Regions from separate parts of the Homo sapiens genome. Here region 2 is linked to region 1. Evidence: promoter capture Hi-C in human tissues and cell types (Jung and others, 2019). All regions are on one chromosome and are shown on one strand. Each heading gives the region's core, a stretch centred on a gene start or on the middle of the fragment in contact. The rest is flanking DNA. Distances are from core to core; before and after follow the strand shown.

The links. The method cuts DNA at HindIII sites, captures the fragments that hold promoters and counts their contacts. A contact is called where the count stands out against the background at its distance.
Region 2: a contact is called between a fragment that was not itself captured here and the fragment with the promoter of NADSYN1 in region 1, in 1 of the 25 tissues and cell types used here (thymus).

What each region holds. Positions count from the first base shown.
Region 1 is chr11:71,451,918-71,454,617 of GRCh38, reverse strand. NADSYN1 (NAD synthetase 1) reads right to left here and starts at 1,415. Exons shown (of 21, transcript NM_018161.5): 1 at 1,237-1,415. The coding sequence starts at 1,321. DHCR7-DT (DHCR7 divergent transcript) reads right to left here. Exons shown (of 2, transcript NR_186309.1): 2 at 2,461-2,700. RefSeq lists enhancers at 258-757, 758-1,259, 2,497-2,576, 2,697-2,700 and a silencer at 1,317-1,686. The HindIII fragment of the contact is 4,997 bases long and covers 1-2,700 here.
Region 2 is chr11:71,416,737-71,419,436 of GRCh38, reverse strand. It overlaps the pseudogene ACTE1P. Among named protein-coding and RNA genes, the nearest start is that of DHCR7, 30 kb to the left of the region's middle. The HindIII fragment of the contact is 3,115 bases long and covers 1-2,700 here.

The DNA.
Region 1 (2,700 bases), core at 166-2,665:
CAGAGTGGAAACTTAGTTTTGGCCAAGCCTTCTTCAGTTCAACTAGATTTGCTCTGAGCAAATGAGGTGAAAGCAGGTTGATATTTAAAAAATAAAAATAAAAAACCACTGGCTGCGGTGGCTCATGCCTGGAATCCCAGCACTTTGGGAGGCCAAGGCAGGTGGATCACTTGAGGTCAGGAGTTCGAGGCCAGCATGGCCACCATGGTGAAACCTTGTCTCTACTAAAAATACAGAAATTGGCCATGCATGGTGGCAGACGCCTGTAATCCCAGCTACTCAGGAGGCTGAGGCAGGAGAATCGCTTGAGCCCAGGAGGCAGAGACTGCAGTGAGCCAAGATGACACCACTGCACTCCAGCCAGGGCAACAGAGTGACAGTCCATGTCAAATAATAATAATCATAATAATAATCCAGGGCACATACTGATTAGATGCCATCTCTTGAAACATTCTGTTTCTATTGTTCCTGGCAAAGGCTCTTGCAGTCAGCAGACCAGTGCAAGACAAGCTGCAACCTGACTACACCTGCAGGCTTGCCCATTTAGGTGCAGGTGTAATAGTTTAACTTTTCATCCTCCACGGTGCGTCCATATGAACGAAAATTAGATGGTGACCTTTCAACAACCACACCCTATCTTCGAGGCCACCACGCCCGGCTGATTTTTGTATTTTTAGTAGAGACGGTGTTTCACCATGATGGCCAGGCTGGTCTTGAACTCCTGACCTCAGGTGACTTCCACCCCCTCCGGCCCCCCCAAAATGCTGGGATGACAGGCGTCTTTTTCTACTTCCCTTTCTGGGACGCCTTCTCCCACCAGGAAGGCCCACGGGGACCAGAGACCATCAATCTCTGGCCTCTGCACACCATCCCCGCCAGTGCGCAGCCATTCTGTTCAACTTAGATATCTCCGAGAATGGGCAGCTCAGTCCCAACCACGGGACCCCAGAGATATCAGAACACGGGTCCATCCCCAGGCCTCCCGCCTAAGCCGCCAGACTTTTCTTAACCGTGCCTTGTATATCGCTCGTCCCCGGGAACTATAAACACTCACTTCCCGACGAGGACCTGAGCACGTACCACTGGCGGGGTCATTGCCCATTATCTCACCTGATCCCATGCCCAGGGCCGAGAGTTTCCCAGGGCAAGGCTGTGAGCACGCCACGGGCAAGCCTGGGCCCAGCCACGGTGCCCGTGCGCCACCCCAAACCGGTGCCCCCGCCGCCCCAGACTCACTCTTTAAAATTCTTTGCAAATTGCCCTCGAAGTCCAGGGCCCACTGGTTGAGTGCGCAGGTGGCCACGGTCACCTTCCGGCCCATCCTGGCCGCAGTCGCTTGGGCAGGAGGCCAGCGGGGGACAGCAAGACCAGGGTCCCAGCGAGGTAGGCGGCTGGGACGCCGGACCTTCCGGGTTGCCCGGCCCCGCCCCCTCCCCGCCCATCCGTTGAGGCTCCGGCCAAGGAGGACTGCGGCGTCAGGCCCTGCCTACGGATCGCCCCGCCCCGTCTGAGGAGCTCACGACCGCGCCTGCGCAGCGAGGTGGCCTCAGCGTTCACGGCACCGCGAAGGGCCCCGCCCCCGCCCCGGCTCCACCCACGTCCCAGGCCCCGGCCCCGGCCCGGCCCTTGCGGGCAAACCCGTTCAGGTGCACAGGTGCAGGGGGCTCACCGCCCAGCTGCAGCACCCCTCTATTTTATCCCACACCGCCACCCCACATCCAGCTTAGCCATGTTTTATTTTAATACGGCATGAAACGTTCCAAATACACCAAAAGTGGAGAGTACGGTAGGAGCGCTCCATCGTGCCCGCGGGACAGCAGACGATAGCAATCGATTCTCCGTGCTGGGAATCCCGCCACCCTGGGCGGATGGCGCTGAATTCTTGGGAACCCTCTCCTGCCCCTTTCACTCCTGTACCACGTGTGTAAGTAGCTCAGGTAGCGCACTGTTTGCCTTTTCTGAAACTACAGGAACTGCACTTGAATGTGCTTCTGCAACTTGATTTTTTCCCCTGTAATATGAGATACGTTCTTTTAATTATTTTTCTGCAGTTTGGTATTCCATAGTGGCAGTAAAGCAGGTTTATTCAATAGCGGATGGGCATTGACGTTATTAGCAGCGTTTTGCCAACAGACGCACGCACACAGGCACTGCTGCAATTTCCTTTCCGGCAAGGTTTCCTTCGTGACCTCGTTCCGCCAGTTCCTGCAGCAGCTTTGCAGAGTAGTAGGGTTCGTGCTGTTTGACTTTACTAAATATTGCCAAGTCTCTTCTCCAGGGCGCTTGCACCGATTCACTACCAGCGGTTTCTCACTTTTTATTTTTTCACATTTCCTCTTTAGTCCACCCACGGTAGAATCCATTTTTCCCCCATATAAATAACTGCCTCATCATCGTTGCTTGAAGAGGCCATCCTTCCTTCTGTCATTCATGTTAGTTTAAAAACACACAATTCACAAATTTGGAAAAAGAGAAGGCTTTATTTCTTGTAAACGGTCGTAGCCTGCAAGGTGGCGGCCATCTGTCTGAGGCTGGGAATCTGTCTCCAGCCAAGGCCAGAGACAGGCACGTCCAAGGAGGAGGGGTTGGGGCAGGAGCGCTATGCTGAAGGGATTGGCTAAACATACATATTCAACAGGTAACAGGAGGAGCTATGAATATTCATGAAGGTGGTCCTGACACATGCCCTCTTATTGAGCA
Region 2 (2,700 bases), core at 65-2,564, 35 kb after region 1:
GTGATGGTTCAGGCCTGTAATCCCAGCACTGTGGGAAGCTAAGGCTGAGGTTTGAGACCAGCTGGCGCAACATGGCGAAATCCTGTTTCTACTAAAAATACAAAATATTAGCCAGGTGTGGTGGTGCATGCTTGTAGTTCCAGCTACTCAGGATACTAAGGTGGGAGGATTGCTTGAGCCTGGAAGGTCAAGGCTACGGCGAGCTTTGATGGTTCCACTGCACTCCAGCCTGGGCAACGCAGCCAGACTCTGTCTCAAAAAAAAAAAAAAGTCATCCCTAACATTTATATACATTACATATATCTTGTTTTATATCATAATAACATAGTATAAAATAAAAATAGAAATAATCCTTTCTGCATGTGTATCTCAGGGTGCAGCCCTGGGGAGACAGAGAAGCTTAGATCTGGGGAAGCTCTCATCTGGCCGATAGGGTTTGCAGTGTGGCTTTCTAGAAGCTGTAAGGGTGAATGAACCGCAGATGCTCAGCCCCACCCAGAGAACTGCAGCTGGTGTGGAAAGTAGAGTGGGAGGCATGACAAGTGACAGCTGTAGTGAGAGACGTCGGGTCTGGAACACAGTGACTCAAGGCAGAGGACTGTCCCAGGGTACGGGATCCAGGCTGATGCCCATGTGCCACTGCACTGCTGGCTCAGATGCCCCCGTGACCCCTGCAGCTCCCGGGGCTCCTGGGAATGCTACTGGCGGTGCCCCACACTGGGTGGTAGCTGCCTTTGTATTTACCCAGCCATGCCTTGACTCCCTGAGCACTGGGCTGCTTCCAGCTCTTCATTCCAGCACCTGTAGGAAGCATCTGTGGATGCTTGTGGGCGGGATCGGCCACCATGTTACCTGCTCTTTGCAGGAAAGCCTGGCCTTTTACATCCCAGGCCTAGGACTTGTCCCAGTTTGACCAGGACTGAGAAGTTTTTGGGGACATGGCTTCTTCAATGTTGAAACTGGAAAAAACCAAACCAGGATGAGGTGGTTATTTCACCCAGACTTTGGTACTCAAATGTAAGGGCTTGGTTTGGCTAGGACTGATTGTGTGTCACAGCAGCACGCCACATATCCTGTATGCCTTCTGTAAACCCTCCATTTATTTTGGAAGGAACAGTCATCCCGTGTCTCCCACTGCCAGCTCCTGGGGGCTGCCAGCGTTTTACTGAGTGGCTCTCAGCTGCCTCCAATCTTGCTAAGGGCAGATTAAACTAGTAAAATGGGACTTGAGAGCAATTCTTCCTCCCTGAAAGGCTAGAGTGAGGACACGAGAACACGCTTTTCAGACTGGAGAGTCAACAATCACAACAGATTTCTGTAACTGAAGGTGGTGGTTTTCTTGTCTTATCTTCGACTGGAGGGCATCAGACTTACCTGGGGGTCTTCTTAGACTAAGATTGCTGGGCCCCCACCCAGCGTTTCTCATTCAGGGGATCTGGGATGAGGACTGCGGACTGCATTTCTAACAAATGAAGCTAATTTTGATGGTCTGGGGTCCGCACTTTGAGAACTGTTGTCACAGTGTTAAGGGATACAGTCTAGATGAGGGGTTGTCAGACTTTTTCTACAAGGGGGTCACATAAGAAATATTTTAGGTTTTGTGGGTGATATGGTTTGGATCTGTGTCCCCACCCAAATCTCATGTGGAATTGTAATCCCCAATGCTGGAGGTGGGGCCTGCTGGGAGGTGATTGGATCCTGGGGGTGGAATACCCCCCTTTGGTGCTATTCCTGATAGAGTTCTCATGAGATCTGGTTGTTTAAAAGTGTGTGGCATCTCCTTCCTCTCTCTCCCTCCTCCTCTGGCCATTAGGATGACCCTGCCTCCCCTTCACCTTCCACCATGATTGTAACTTTCCTGTGGCCTACCTGGAAGCCAGCACCACACTTCCTGTATAGCCCACAGAACTGCGAGCCAATTAAACCTTTTTTCTTTTCTTACTTTTTTTTTTTTTTTTTTTTTGAGATAGAGTCTCAGGAGCCTAGGCTGGAGTGCAACGGTGCAATCTCAGCTCACTGCAACCTCCGCTTCCAGGGTTCAAGCGATTCTTTTGCCTCAGCCTCCCAAGTAGCTGGGACTACAGGCGTGTGCCATCACACCTGGCTAATTTTTTGTATTTTTAGTAGAGACAGAGTTTCACTGTGTTAGCCAGGATGGTCTTAATCTCCTGACTTCGTGATCCGCCCGCCTCAGCCTCCCAAAGTGCTGGGATTACAGGCGTGAGCCACTGCGCCCGGCCCGAAACCTCTTTTCTTTATAAATTACCCAGTCTTAGGCATTTCTTTACAGCAGTGCGAGAACAGACTAGTACAGTGGGCCACATGTTCTCAACTACTCAACTCTGCCGTAGTAGCCCAAGAGCAGCTAGAGACAGGGTGCAAATGAGTGTGACTGAGTTCCAATAAAACTTAATTTACAAAGACAATCAGTGGGCCAGAATTAGCCTCTGGGCTTTTGTTTGCCAGCCTCTGGTTCAGACCATTACAGTGTGATTTTCAACAATCCCCTTAGCTTCTCTGTGTTTTCCATCTTTGTATTGGTGAGTGGATGACTTTGAGCGAGTTGAAAGCAGACCATGGAGGTCTGGGAAGGACCATTTGTTTAGAGTACAGATGCAGGTCAGTGTAGCACAACCTTACTGAGGCTTTATAGCTTTCAACAACCGTCATATTATATTCACCAGTCTGTGGGTCAACTCG